Linked DNA regions of Homo sapiens: all the other regions are linked to region 1. Evidence: promoter capture Hi-C in 16 types of primary human blood cells and fetal thymus (Javierre and others, 2016). All regions are on one chromosome and are shown on one strand. Each heading gives the region's core, a stretch centred on a gene start or on the middle of the fragment in contact. The rest is flanking DNA. Distances are from core to core; before and after follow the strand shown. Region 1 holds the start of GFM1 (G elongation factor mitochondrial 1). Region 2 holds the start of LINC00886 (long intergenic non-protein coding RNA 886). Region 3 holds the start of CCNL1 (cyclin L1). Region 4 overlaps LOC101928236 (a long non-coding RNA gene). Region 5 has its middle 28 kb from the start of VEPH1.

Evidence for each region. Contacts are between HindIII fragments. The CHiCAGO score rates a contact against its expected background, and 5 or more counts as called.
Region 2: a contact is called between a fragment that was not itself captured here and the fragment with the promoter of GFM1 in region 1, in 1 of 17 cell types (total CD8 T cells). The highest score is 5.0, in total CD8 T cells.
Region 3: a contact is called between the fragment with the promoter of CCNL1 here and the fragment with the promoter of GFM1 in region 1, in 4 of 17 cell types (total CD8 T cells, activated CD4 T cells, total B cells and 1 more). The highest score is 8.3, in total CD8 T cells.
Region 4: a contact is called between a fragment that was not itself captured here and the fragment with the promoter of GFM1 in region 1, in 5 of 17 cell types (activated CD4 T cells, total CD8 T cells, naive CD4 T cells and 2 more). The highest score is 7.8, in activated CD4 T cells.
Region 5: a contact is called between a fragment that was not itself captured here and the fragment with the promoter of GFM1 in region 1, in 1 of 17 cell types (endothelial precursors). The highest score is 5.1, in endothelial precursors.

The regions. Positions count from the first base shown.
Region 1 is chr3:158,642,999-158,645,878 of GRCh38, forward strand. GFM1 (G elongation factor mitochondrial 1) reads left to right here and starts at 1,529. Exons shown (of 18, transcript NM_024996.7): 1 at 1,529-1,717; 2 at 2,631-2,783. The coding sequence starts at 1,637. The HindIII fragment of the contact is 2,960 bases long and covers 1-2,126 here.
Region 2 is chr3:156,816,097-156,818,976 of GRCh38, forward strand. LINC00886 (long intergenic non-protein coding RNA 886) reads right to left here and starts at 966. Exons shown (of 3, transcript NR_038387.1): 1 at 791-966. RefSeq lists silencers at 420-749, 770-979 and an enhancer at 864-2,063. The HindIII fragment of the contact is 164 bases long and covers 1,295-1,458 here.
Region 3 is chr3:157,158,685-157,161,564 of GRCh38, forward strand. CCNL1 (cyclin L1) reads right to left here and starts at 1,463. Exons shown (of 11, transcript NM_020307.4): 1 at 1,108-1,463; 2 at 721-795; 3 at 182-291. The coding sequence starts at 1,410. RefSeq lists enhancers at 675-744, 1,378-2,107, 2,195-2,244, 2,265-2,324 and a silencer at 885-1,094. The HindIII fragment of the contact is 11,903 bases long and covers 1-2,880 here.
Region 4 is chr3:157,177,296-157,180,175 of GRCh38, forward strand. The region is part of intron 2 of LOC101928236 (a long non-coding RNA gene); the gene reads left to right. Among named protein-coding and RNA genes, the nearest start is that of CCNL1, 19 kb to the left of the region's middle. RefSeq lists an enhancer at 588-1,089. The HindIII fragment of the contact is 2,080 bases long and covers 492-2,571 here.
Region 5 is chr3:157,530,468-157,533,347 of GRCh38, forward strand. No RefSeq gene overlaps it. Among named protein-coding and RNA genes, the nearest start is that of VEPH1, 28 kb to the left of the region's middle. The HindIII fragment of the contact is 894 bases long and covers 1,029-1,922 here.

The DNA.
Region 1 (2,880 bases), core at 279-2,778:
AAAGTTACACATGAGGACTTGGCCTGCTACCAGTCTGATTATTTGCCAGAGGGGACCAGTCAGAGGTACTTTCCATTTTTTCATCTGCAATGCAGTGCATTGGGAGTAGCCTCCGATCCTTTTGTTACTTGGGCATGGAGAGGTGGGGTTTTCCTTTTGGTTCAGCTCTAGGAAGTCAGCAGGGCCTTCGGTTCCCTGTCTCTAGACCCTGTTCTCCTGCCTCACCCATAAAGGGAATTCCCTAGAGATACTAAAGGCTGTCTGTCTCTCTTCTGAGCAGCCCACTCTGCCTCTCAGAGTGTACTTTTGGTTTACAATAAACTTTTTTGCCTACTCTTACTTTGTACTTGCTTTCAAATTCTTTTGTGTGGTGAAGTCAAGCACCTGAACCGGCCCACTGACAACAGCAAGGATAGAAGCAGTGAGATCGGTTACAAGGCTATTACAATAGTTCCCTCCAGAAACGGCAGTACTGAGAGGTGGGGAGAAGTAAGTTCTGGATTTTCTTTTTTTTTTTTTTTTTTTGAGACTCGCTCTGTCACCCAGGGTGGAGTGCAGTGGCGTGATCTCGGCTCACTGCAAGCTCCGCCTCCTGGGTTCACACCATTCTCCTGCCTCAGCCTCCCGAGTAGCTGGGACTACAGGCGCCCGCCACCGCGCCCGGCTAATTTTTTTTTGTATTTTTAGTAGAGACGGGGTTTCACTGTGTTAGCCAGGATGGTCTCCATCTCATGACCTCGTGATCTGCCCGCCTCGGCCTTCCAAAGTGCTGGGACTACAGGTGTGAGCCACCGCGTCCGGCCCTGGATGTCTTTTTGAAAGTAGAGCTTACAGGATATGCTGACTGATTAGACCGGAGATGTCACAGCATGGTGTCAAAGCGACTAATATTTTTGGCTAGAATCACTAAAGTTTACATTTATGAGATGGATAAGACTGTGGAAGGTTTGGGGAAGAAGATCCGAAGCTCAGTTTTGGACCTGTTAGGTTCAACATGCCTCTTAACACATCCAAGCAGAATGGTCAAGGATGCAGTCTTCCACATGGACAGGACATGAAATGTCTGACATCGAACAATAACAAATAACATTTTGACATGAGGAAAAGTATTTGTAATTGTAATTGATAGTTCATTCACTATAATTTGTCCACGTTCTTTTTCAGGCCATGTCATATATATACCTATTAATATTTGTAATAGACAATTTTGCTCTTTTCTACTTAAATTGTTATATACATTTCTCCACATTGCTTTATAGGCCTAACAACCATGTTTAAATTCTGTATCTTCATACAGAGGTAATATTTAAAAAAGAAGACGAAGACAAAAGGACTCCCTTCCCTCACCCATATACCTATGCCGTCTTACTGGGAGCAAACACTTCTTTAGCTCCGCAAAGCGATTGCACTTTCTCTTCCAAGTCGGCAGACGGCGCGCGAGCAGCGTAGGCACTGCTCCGCCTCCAATCCAGTTGCTCTTCTTTCTTTTCCTCACTCTCTTTTTCCTCGCGTCCTTTGCCCCGGAAGTGCTCTTACAACATTGGCTGCCGGCGTGACTTTGACCGCTTCCCGGTGCGTTACCGGCAGCTGAACCCACCCGGCGCCACGGGACTTTGACGCGTGCTCTGCGCTTGCCATGAGACTCCTGGGAGCTGCAGCCGTCGCGGCTCTGGGGCGCGGAAGGGCCCCCGCCTCCCTAGGCTGGCAGAGGAAGCAGGTACCGGAGCATAGAGAGGCTAAATCGGGACCATTCCCGGAACCTTGTGATCCCTTCTGGGCAATGGAAGGCCGTGACACCCCCTGGGTCCTCATGACTGACAGCTCCGAATACTGGCAGTCGCTCGTCAGTGCTGAAAAGCACCTCGGTGCCTGCACATTAGCTCGTTAGCTCGTTTGTTTCGCTCTCTGGTATCCCTAGGGTTTAATCAACTAAAAGTGTCTGTCACTCAGATACTTTGATATTTTATCCACCTTTTCTAAGGTTTTTTTTTTTTTTTTTTGCCTCTCTTTTCCCGTGAATAATTGTGCATTTTGGATGTGCAGTCCTATAGGGAAAGGTTTATATTGTATCTTCATTCCATCTAATAGGGATCCCCATCCCCTGCCACCAGAGTAAAGTTAAAACAAGCTTCATGAATTGTTTTTGTTTGGAGGGAATTGGAAATCTTTGGGGGCTGTCTTGGAGCTACTAGCATCACTGCATAGAGCATATAAGTTCTCAAACATATTTGTCATCTGTGAACTACAATAAAGGAGAAAGGGAAAAAAATTAAGTTAAATTTAAGCTAAAATTTGTATTTTCTATTAAAGTATTTTTTGGAGCTGTCTTTGTGATTTTATCTGCCCCAGTGTGTATTTTCAAATCTGCAGTAAAAAGTGTCTCCCATTTTAATTAAATTTAACTTATTCATTAATTAATTTTAAAAGAATACGTCTTTACTGTCTTGTTTTGAAGTCTGTCCTCTGATTACAAGAGTTCCAGGCTTAAAGGTTTCCCCTGGTGCCTTTCTCAAGCTATCTCATATCCAGTGAGATTTCTTGGAGGAATAATGTCCACCATACTCCTTTTAATTGTCTGTTGTTCTCTCTTATAAAAGGTGCATAGAATTGAGCTCTCGTATTTTTTTCAGGTTAATTGGAAGGCCTGCCGATGGTCTTCATCAGGGGTGATTCCTAATGAAAAAATACGAAATATTGGAATCTCAGCTCACATTGATTCTGGGAAAACTACATTAACAGAACGAGTCCTTTACTACACTGGCAGAATTGCAAAGATGCATGAGGTATATATTCACGGTTGATTCCGGATTAATTAGAACCAGATTTTAATTGTTTTGTTGCTATTATTTAATAAAGCTTATAAACCTGAAAGATTAAAAC
Region 2 (2,880 bases), core at 127-2,626, 1.8 Mb before region 1:
CCCTCTGCGAAGCGCGGAGCGGCTGCGGCCACCCGGCCAGAGCCAGCGCTGAGCTGCGCTGCGCTGCGTGACTGGCTGCATTTCTCAGCCCCGACGGCTGTGGTTACTCAAACTGATCTCATCGCAGGTCGTCACGACACGCGCTTCCCCTCGCCTGCACGCGGCGTGGCGTGAGAGGGGCCCTGGCAGCCGGCGCGCCCACCCCTGATCCTTCGAGGCCCACGATGAAGCCCATCCTACTTGCAATAACGGCCCCGTTCTCATTCTTCAAAAGACGGCTCCCAGACGTCAACAAAGAATCTAACCTACACAGCGCCGGCCCTCGCTCCTTTCAGCCTCAGCGAGCGCTGCCCTTCATTACCCCCCAGCGCACTTCTGGACACTGCGCCGGGTCGCCGGGGTCAGCCGCCCGGCCACGAAAGTCGCCCCCAGCGTGCCCCAGGCGTCAGTGCACGCCGGGCTCCCGGCTCCAGGCAGGCGGGGTGAGGCAGCTCCGCGAAGGCCACTCGCTGGCGACCCCTTCCCGGGTCTCCTAGCCCTGGCCGGGCTGCCCCCGCGCCCGCCCCCGCCCTCGAAATCCAGGCAGTGCGGGAGGCCGCCTTGCTGCTCTCTCCGCCCGCACAGGGCCGCCCGACGGAGCGGGCAGGGAGCAGGCGCCAAGGAGGCCGAGAGGGGCCCAGGGGCGAGGTCGACTCTCAGCCCGCTGTCCCCTTATCCCACGTTTCGCAGCCTGAGGTGTTTGTTGTATATCGGGAACTGACACTTTTCGGCGTTAAAATGAGGGCGTCACCTGCTCGAACTAAAGTCGGTGGAGGGCGTCTGGAGCCGGGCGGAATCTGGGATGCCTCGCCGGATTACGCGGCGGGGTCGGCACGCGAGGCAGGCTCCGGGCGCACCAGGAAGCCCGAGCGTGCACTAAAGCGGCGGAAGCAGGCAGCGGGGGCGGGGCCGGCGGGCTGCAGGCACGCAGGCGGCGCGGCGGCCTGGGGTTGCGTGACCTGCCGGGCTGCGGTCGCACGCACTTCGTGCTTCAGGCGGCCGTCGCCGGGCGGGAGGTGCAGGTGCTGGAGGGCGGCGCCCGGCTTCTACTTTCAAAACACCGCCGGGGAGGGCAGTCACGCTATATTTCTGGGACAGGGAGTGAGTTCACCGGGGGAGGACACAGCGTCCCCTTGTTATCACAACGTGGGTAACATTCGGTAATAAAACGCGCTCGGACAGGATGTATTAAACGAATTGGGAACCGGAGCTGCTCTTTCCATAAGCAATCAAGCTGGGGAAACTTTACAAGGAAAGCTTTAAATTGCGATGCATGGCGCAGGAGTGTGGTTCGTGTGACATGCTTACAGAGAAAGGAACCAGAGCAAGGACGGTGGCTTTGGGACGAAATTTCTGTCCGCTCTGCACAAAGACTAATTACAGAGTCGTGATTTGGGGCATGCTCTCATTCCTCCCGGAAGCTTTCTTTGCAGTGTTTTATTTTAAAATCAGAGGTGGTTGATCTCCCTGGCATACGAACATGAGAGACCTCATTTATATGGTGACTCAAAAGCCCCAAGGACATAAAAAAGGTGCCACGTTTTAAGACACCAGAATCTAAGTTCCTTCTCAAGATCATGTGAGCAAAAAGTGTTTTGCCCGCACAGATATCTATTTACATAATTAAAATGTTTGTAGATTTGCAGATAAATCAAGTTTAGAGGACAAAACAAAAAATGTTACCACGATAGTTTTTAACACAAGAGCACCCCAGTCAACTGAAAGCTTGGGAAATTCCACATTAGTTTATTTTCTATGTACTTAAACTTTGATTTGGTGAATCTATGCTCTCTTATTTCCCTATTATGACTCTTAGGCCTATAGTGCCTAGTTACACACACATTTGTTTTTGTGATACATGTAACATTATAGGAAAGGGGGGATTCTCTAGGGTTAGAATAGACACAATAAACTCCTAGGAAGCTTTCTCAAAAATACATATTCTCATCTCAGCTTACCATATGTGGGAAAAGGCAGCAAGATTCACTGTTTAATTTTAAAATGTTCTACCAGCTGACTGATTCTCACGTGGGATTTTTTTTTTTTTTCCTGGTCTGCCCAGCACGCTTAATTTCTTCTGGGACAGAACTGCCTACCCTTCCTGCCTGGATTGTGCTTCTGCCTTTACTCTTCTAGAATGTAGTTAGAAAGGGAGGTGTCATTGTGTGTGGCCTTGCCTACTTGGTCCCCACACTTGGTCGAGAGGCATATACCTGACTCAAGGTAAGCCAATGACAAACAGCACTTGACTCCTCCTGGCCTTAGTAATTTGGTTAAAGAGATTGCATATCATCCAAGTTGTGCCAAAGAAAGTCATTTCCTGGCAATTTTCTAACAGGAGGGTGGGCATAGATGCCTTCTCCCCAGTTCCTTTTGGTGACAAAATTGGACCGTCAGCCACCACTGCTCTGCCATGTGCAGAGACTGCCAACAATAAAAGAAAATGGAACCAACTTTCATTAAGTGGTAGATTCTAAGGGCTGAGCCTTTTTATGGCTTTTGCAAATTCCACATTGCATATCTGAGGTTCTCAAAGCAATACTGGCTCCTGCTTTCCTGAAACTTGATTGTTTACCTCTTCTGATTCTATGAGAAGAGATATGTATTTATAGAAATAATAAAATATACATTTAGAATGCTGTTTAGAATATTACGGTTTTTTTTTTTTGTAGTTATAACACAATTTTTAACTTGCTTTTTGTCACAGAACAATCTATTGGGACATTCAACCACATCAGCAAAGAACCACATCATCATTTCTAACAGCTGCACACTGTTGTTCGAGTAAATCAATGTATTTCACATTTTAGTATTTCCTGTTTTAAAACATTATAAGACTGT
Region 3 (2,880 bases), core at 213-2,712, 1.5 Mb before region 1:
TTATGTTTCTTTTTTCAAATTATTTTAAGTATCAGTGTTCCTATATGAACTTTAACACCTAAATTAAAGTCCGTTTTCTTTTGCATCCGTATTCACTTGAAAGGAAAGATGTTTTGATTTGATGACTGGTGCACGGTACAGCAGTAGCAAGAGATACTATGTTCAATAATGCCAATCTTACCTTTTTCCTCTTAACTGGCGGAGGTGGTGGAATACATTAATCACATCTCTTATTCTTCTAGGTGCTTCTTCGATTTTTGATGCAAGATTAATACAAGCCATAGCAACAATCTGAAAGAACCCATGAGCCACAAAAGCCATTGTTAGATTAAACTCACTTTGAAGAATAAAATTTAGAACACAATTGGGACAACCTTTAGTAAAATTAGAGAAGACATCTCTATGCCGTAAGTCTACCAGCTATGCTAGTACTATACTTTTTGTTGTTTAACTCATCTTAATTTTGGTTCCAGAGTCAAACTCAATCTTACAGGAGTTCTGCATTTGGTTGAAAACTGTACTTTTCGTTAAGAGGGCACTTAGGCTCGTGATCGATTTTGAACCACATTCTAAAGGTTTCCACTTCCTGGCGAGTGAGAAGTAGGTACAAAGGCCTAAACTAAACCACTCCCTTTCTGGAAAAGCTGGCTGCTGACACTACCCCTACTCTGCCCATTTCCGGATGAAGAAATCCCTTTTACCCGCCTCCGCTGTGCTTACCTCGAAACTGTGTTTGACGAAAGATTTGGAGTAGAAAAAACGATGAAACAACACCTGCCCCGTTGCCATCGCCACCTGCAGACAAGAGAGGAGAACGGAAGCGCAGGGGTCAGGCGGGCCCGCTCCAGGCGCCGCCGCCATTTTGTGCCGCCGATCGCTTCCCTTTCCCCTCCCGCCGCCGCCGCCGCTGCGAACAGCCCGCTGCCAAGTCCTCCCTCCGCCTCCGCAGCCCCCCGCCCCGGCACGCCCCGGCCGCGGCTGGGCCCCGAACGGGAAAGCCTGAAGGAACCGTCCCCACCCTCCCGGGGCACGGTGATACTGAGATGCGGCGTAGGGGACGGAGGAGAGGAGAGGAGCGCCCGGCCGGCCCGGGGCCGGAGCACTGACCTGCGGCAGCCGGAGGAGAATGCCGGCGGCCTGGATGAGCTCGCAGCCCAGGATGCGTAAGTCCGTCTCACTGGGCAGGTCGAGCCCATCCTGCATGGATGGGGTGGGCGAGAGCCTCTCCTCCGGAATCAGAGAGTGGTCGATGGTAAGTGAAACTTCCGAGTACAGGCGATCGCCGATCAGGATCCCTCCCGTCGTGGTCGTCGTCGTGGTCGTCGTCCCGGAGCTGGAGCCGCCCGCGCTTGGGGCGGCCGATGAGGCGGCTGCGGCAGCAGTAGCTGTCGAATGAGGCCCGGACGCCATAGTCTTAGCGAGCCGCACGCAAGCCCAACGCAGCCGGAACCCGAAACAAGACTAACCAGCGTTCTCGGCGCGACGGATATTCCCGTGACCGCCGGGTTCTGGGCCGCTTCACGCCGCGTGCGCTTCCGCCCTGACGTCACCACGCCGGGCAGCCGCGCGCCAACTAGTCCCTCCAGGCCGCGCCTCCGCCCTCGGCATCTGGGCCTGCGAGGGGAGTGTTGGGTGCTGCGACAGACCTTGGGATCCTCAGAGGCTGAGGAGGCCTTCTCTAGCCAAGGCCGGTCGAAACCACCTTGTTTGTGATAGCCACACGAATAACGGAGCTTTACAAGATCCCTTATACCCAAAATAGAGGTGGCAGCATTGGCTAGCATCTCTGCGCCCCTTCGCCCTGCATTCCGGCCTCTTCCTTTAGCCTCGGCGCGGCTTGCGTTCCGCGTGTACCAAGGGAAGTGGCGGCCGACCTGAGCGCGCTTTGGCGGGTGGAAGTGGTGACTTTGTTGTCCTGTGTGGACGAATGTGTAATATAAAGTGACCCTCAAGGAATCTGGAGAGGGCTGCTTTACAGTATTTGAAGAACACAGGGCTGTGGACCCTATCGGTTCCCAAATGAAAGCTCCCCGGGGAGCGTGTTTTTGCCAGTATGGGGAAGTAGGGCGGAGGCATAGGAATGACCGCGAGAGTGGCTGCTTTCATAGCTCCGCTTGCGAAACTCCTGCCCGGCCTTTGACACCGCCACGGCTTTCAGTAATCTGGAAAATCCCTAGTTTCCAAAAATAGTCTTAGGGCGAGGACTTGACAGAGGTAATTTGATTATGCCTGGGAGTCTCTATTCATACATGGTTACCTACCGCGGGTAGGGTGAGGTCAACCTCGTGTTTTTTGTTTTTTTTCCTGTGATATTAGCTAGCAATTTCCAGCGTTTCCTGAACCTTGAAGTAAAAACAATGATACTGATCTAAACTACTAGAATCTAGGTTGGAAGGAAAGGAATGCATCACGTTTTACTCTTGACGCTCAGAAAGCGATACCCCAAAGACAGAGGCTTTAGAAGCTGCCTCATAATGCAGGTCCCCCAACCTTGACTTGTTGCTCCCACTTTTCCCAAGTGCAGGGAGGTACTCTCTGAAATTTCCTTTCCTGACTAGAGAAGCCTCTTTGTAGAAGAATCAATCGCATTCCTCCCCTCGCTGAAATCTCGTATCCTATTTCAAAAAGACTCAGAAATGCAGCCATTCCTGGAGGGACTTTTTCACAAGATTACTCAAAAGAAAATTATTTACTAATTTCTGTCCATTCATTGTTCCTAATAATCATTTGCTGCTCCTCAAAATAAATGTCTACATTTCTCATCTACCCTTTCCCCTATGAAAAAAAGATATAAAATCTTCTGTACTCCATTAAGCTACTGGGTAATCATCCTCCTGCTTTTACCCCGGTGTTATGTATCCCTTTTCTCCTGTTAATCGC
Region 4 (2,880 bases), core at 282-2,781, 1.5 Mb before region 1:
TCCCAAAGTGTTGGGATTACAGGTGTGAGCCACTGTGCCCACCCCAATTTGCTTCTTTGGTGTTTGTAATTCTGCTTGGTCAACCGTAACTTGCAGAAATTGATTGGAACATATATTTTGATAAAGTATTTGAAGGTATTCCTGAAGTTTGATTTATGTTTCAGCTGCCTATACTGAAAGAAAATAAACTGCTGTGTATTCCATAATTTAAAAATAATTGTTCACTTTAGTGACATTTTGTAGTTGGATAGTGGAGACAAAAGATGATACTCTCTGTGATCTTCAATCTAAACATTTATGTTAGGACAAATTATTCCCATATCTGTATAATGCTATATTTCTTCCCTGACCTCTACAAATCACAGAAGCACCGTTATTCGATCTTGTTCTCTTTTTCAAAAAATTCTACCTTCCAAGGTGGTGGTTCTTTAAGTTTATAAGTGAACCATAAAGTAGTTGGAAACCTGGATCCCAGGATGGTAGAAACATGAAGCTTGTTTATTCCAAGGACAGTTTTATATATGTATAGGACTTTATTATCCTTACTATATACAGCATTTTAATGGGGAGGGGGAACCAGGAGCATTGTTGGGGGTTAATTTAATTTTTGTAGTTTTAAAATACAAACGAATGATTGTATCAGTCTTTTTTTTTTTGTATTTATTGATCATTCTTGGGTGTTTCTCAGAGAGGGGGTTGTGGCAGGGTCATAGGATAATAGTGGAGAGAAGGTCAGCAGATAAACACGTGAACAAAGGTCTCTGGTTTTCCTAGGCAGAGGTCCTTGTGGCCTTCCGCAGTGTTTGTGTCCCTGGGTACTTGAGATTAGGGAGTGGTGATGACTCTTAACGAGCATGCTGCCTTCAAGCATCTGTTTAACAAAGCACATCTTGCACCGCCCTTAATCCATTTAACCCTGAGTTGACACAGCACATGTTTCAGAGAGCACAGGGTTGGGGGTAAGGTTATAGATTAACAGTGTCCCAAGGCAGAAGAATTTTTCTTAGTACTGAACAAAATGGAGTCACCTATGTCTACTTCTTTCTACACAGACACAGTAAAAATCTCATCTCTCCTTCTTTTCCCTACATTTCCTCCTTTTCTTTTCGACAAAACCGCCATCGTCATCATGGCCCTTTCTTGATGGTCGCTGTCTCTTCAGAGCTGTTGGGTACACCTCACAGACGGGGTGGCTGGGCAAAGGTGCTCCTCACTTCCCAGACGGGGCGGCCGGACAGAGGCGCTCCTCACATCCCATACGGGGCGGCTGGGCAGAGACACTCCTCACTTCCCAGACGGGGCGGCCGGGCAGAGGCGCTCCTCACTTCCCAGACGGGGTGGCCGGGCAGAGGTGCTCCTCACTTCCCAGATGATGGGCGGCCGGGCAGAGGCGCTCCTCACCTCCCAGACGGGGCAGCAGGGCAGAGGCGCTCCTCACCTCACAGATGGGGCGGCTGGGCAGAGGTGCTCGCTTCCTAGATGGGGCGGCTGGGCAGAGGCGCTCCTCACCTCCCAGAAGAAGGGCGGCTGGGCAGAGGCGCTCCTCACATCCCAGATGATGGGTGGCCGGGCAGAGGCGCTCCTCACCTCCCAGACGGGGCGGCCAGGCAGAGGCGCTCCTCACATCCCAGATGATCGGCGGCCGGGCAGAGGCGCTCCTCACTTCCCAGATGATGGGCGGCCAGGCAGAGGTGCTCCTCACATCCCAGACGATGGGCGGCCGGGCAGAGGCGCTCCTCACTTCCCAGATGATGGGCAGCCGGGCAGAGGTGCTCCTCAGCTCCCAGATGGGGTGGCTGGGCAGAGACGCTCCTCACCTCCCAGACGAAGGGTGGCCGGGCAGAGGCACTCGCTTCCTAGATGGGGTGGCTGGGCAGAGACGCTCCTCACCTCCCAGACAAAGGGCGGCCGGGCAGAGGCGCTCGCTTCCTAGACGGGGCGGCTGGGCAGAGGCTCTCCTTACCTCCCAGACGATGGGCGGCTGGGCAGAGGCGCTCCTCACTTCCCAGATGATGGGCGGCCGGGCAGAGGTGCTCCTCAGCTCCCAGATGGGGTGGCTGGGCAGAGACGCTCCTCACCTCCCAGACGAAGGGTGGCCGGGCAGAGGCGCTCGCTTCCTAGATGGGGTGGCTGGGCAGAGACGCTCCTCACCTCCCAAAGGGCGGCCGGGCAGAGGCGCTCGCTTCCTAGACGGGGCGGCCGGGCAGAGGCGCTCCTCACCTCCCAGACGAAGGGCAGCCAGGCAGAGGTGCTCCTCACATCCCAGATGATGGGCGGCCAGGCAGAGGTGCTCCTCACCTCCCAGATGGGGAGGCCGGGCAGAGGCATTCCTCACATCCCAGATGATGGGCGGCCGGGCAGAGGCGCTCCTCACTTACGAGACGGGGCAGCCGGGCAGAAGCGCTCCTCATTTCCCAGACGGGGCAGCCGGGTAGAAGCGCTCCTCACTTCCCAGACGGGGTGTATCAGTCTTTAAAATCAGCAATAATGTTACACTGCTAGAACTTTAGAACATACAGACATGAAATAATATCCTCACCAGAAAAGTACTAACCAACTCTGTTACTGAGAAGCTTGAGAAAACATTTTAACAACATCTGCACTCAGGGATAAAATTTGAAATGAGAGTTCAAAGGACAAGATTTATTAACCTTATCTTTCTGTCTTACAATGAACACAGAAGCTCTCATAATTAAGCAATTTGAACAGAAAGATTAGCAAGGGATTGGTCTTTGTATGTTTAATTACTCTGAAGTTATAATGGAAAACCTCTCATGGGACAACATGTATTTACATGTTTGCAAATAATGCTTTGCTTTACATTATGTAGAAAATATTTTATTCCAGAGTATTGTGAACTTTCAAACATCTATTCTGTAG
Region 5 (2,880 bases), core at 226-2,725, 1.1 Mb before region 1:
AAGAGAAGCAGAAGTTGAGTCATAGATAAGTAAAACTGGAACTGAATAGAGGAGAAGGAAGCGTAAAGGAAGCAACTCACAAGGAGAGAGAAGGGGGATAGTTGATGGAGATGGTCACTCAAGAAGGCTCCAAGGAACAGGATCCAGAGAAGAGTGCTGGGTCAGCCTTGGCAGAAAGGAAGGCCTAACCCACTGTGGCATGCAAAAAAATGTCTTAGAGTAACAACAAAAATCAGTCTGTTGTGGACAAACGAGAGCCAAGAAAACTACCCTAGATCTTCTAAAATACAGGATGGAATATGATTTCCTAGGAGTGGGAAGTGGTAGCATCCGGCTGAGAACCTAGGGGTGGAGGAATAGGTCTGAGTCAGACACCATGGAGAATGTGATGAGATAAAAAGAAAAAAAATGAAACAAGATTTGAATCAAGTCTTGAGGTCTCAAATCAGAGTTTGAGAGCATAAATACATGGTGGACTCTGACAGCACCATCTGGTGATTTCTCCCTGCAAGCAAAGGTCTCACTTCTCAGCCCAGATCCAGAAAAGACAAAACAGAAAATGTGAGTGACCCAGAGGTGTGAACTGGCTAGGTGGGAGTTGCAGAGAGCTTCTGAGGAGAGGGTGGTAGAGTGCTGGATAGAGTACTGTGGGGAGCATAAATGAACGACCCAGGCCGAGGAGCCTGCCAAGGGAGGCAAGAAGCACAGGGTGGCTACAGGGAATGTCACGGATGCCCAACCTCAGTTATTACAGTCATTAAACTGGTTTTGTTTCATTTCATAACATTCACTAGAATGAATTAATTTCCAGAGCTTATTGGGCTGTCATTTTGTGATATAAGAAAACAAAAGAAACTTACTCATTACAGTGACTAAAGAGAAGGGAGGTAACTTCCAACTGTTAGTTAGTTGAAATGGAATTCCCTATCTGATAACTATTTCACAAAAGTAGCATTTCAAACCCAGCTTGTGGAGCTCTCCATTGAATGAGAAATGGGGCAGAACCATCTGTCAGCACATCTTCTTGAAGCTTCCTTCTAAAGGAGAGCCCTTCAGGCTGGGTGTGCGGCCCTCACACCCAAGGCACACTGCTGACCTCCTTCCCTGATAGCCGCTCTTCCACTTAGTCATACCAGTGCTTCCTGACGTTTAAAATACCTGAATTTTTGGTAGCACATTTGAGGAAATTAAAAGGCAAACACTTTTTTAAAAAAATAAAAGCAAATTTCAGAAAACTTTCTATAATTATCCTGTTATTTTTTCGTTTGCCCATTGACACCATGTAGCTGCTTGAGTGGAAATGTTTACTGGCCCAATAAAGTTCTCCTGTGCCCTCTTGGGAGTAGAGCTCTTCTGGGTTTCAGTAAACCTGGGCTCTTTCTGTGGCCCTGATTTCCTTTCCCATTTCTACCTTTGCCTATCGCAGCAAGTTGACCCCTGCCCCACACCACCCACCCAAACAGCCTTGCTCCGCCAAGTACCCAGCCCCTCACTGACCTCACCTCAACTGTGTAAAAACAAATTAGTCACACTGATCCAAATGTGTCTGGATGGATTGCCCCCCCACACATAGAATATGAGTCGAGGGGGAACTTGTTTTCCATCTCTGGAGCAGCCTTATAGAAAGGCTTAAAAATCTTCAGCCTCACAACTTTCACAGAGCCACAGAGCTTTCCTCTGTAGTCGGTGATTGTCTGTATCTGGAAGCCATTTTTAAAAATAGAAAAGGAAATGTCTTTCACTGTTTTAAAATGCACACACTGGCAGGTAGTAGTGATAGCTATTTCAGTACCGCAGACACCACACTGAAAACACTTTCTATACTTTACCTCATTTACTCCTCACAGCAACCTTTACCTACAACAACAGCCAGCATCTAAAAAGGCACTGTTACTATTCTGTTTTTCACATGGGATGACTGAAGCTTAGAGAACAGTAAAATGACGCCCTAAAGTCACACAGCTACTAACAGAGCCATGATTTGCACCCAGCCAGGCTGAGCTCAGAGACAGCACTCTGAAATGCCTAATTCAGTGGCTATTTCATTTATACTCATTATTAATGATTGAAGTTTTCTAGAACCTAAGACTGCGAGCTTACCTAACCCAGGTTCTCCTTTCCACCTGGCTACACTCATTTCCTTATTTGATACAATGCCTTCTTCCTTATATGGTTCTTTACGAAGTGTAGTCAACAGGCTTTTAATTCATTGCTTCCTGCCTCTTTAGTCCTCTCCCACCTTCAATTCTTTCCCAAGATCTCGGCCACAATACTGTTTCCTCTCTACTGTTTTTTACTCACATCTTCCACAAGGGGGCACATTCTGACCATAAAGCTTTGAGGCTCTCCAGTCAGCTAAAATACAACCAGCGTCACCCTAATGCTTTCATTCTGTTACAAGAAATGCCTTTATTCAAGCTACATTCCTCATTGTTATTTCACGTAGGGGAAACAACAGTAAAAAAGGAAACCATATAATTTTTGTAGACTGTTTGACCATAATTCATTCACTGGATTTCTATGTTAGGTATGGAATCCATTAAGCAGGATATTGAAGCTTATGAATGGAAACCTAGTAATTCCTCTTTAATAAACATGAGTTACTTTTATTTCTTAAACTTTATTAGGCATTTACTCAAAACATTACTCAGAAATGTTTGTTAATAATATGAATGATGATTTTGATTCCGTTTGCGTTGTTACTATGTCTAAGGGTCCAAAACACAAAGTCTGGATTATTCATAAAGACTGAGAAAATGGCTGGCATTTGAATGTAAATCTTAGTGCTTGAGCCTAACTCCATCTTGACACTTCTCACCAACCCTAAGGAAGGAGTGGCTGCTACCACAGTGGCCTTTTTGTGTAGCTGAGGAAACCAAG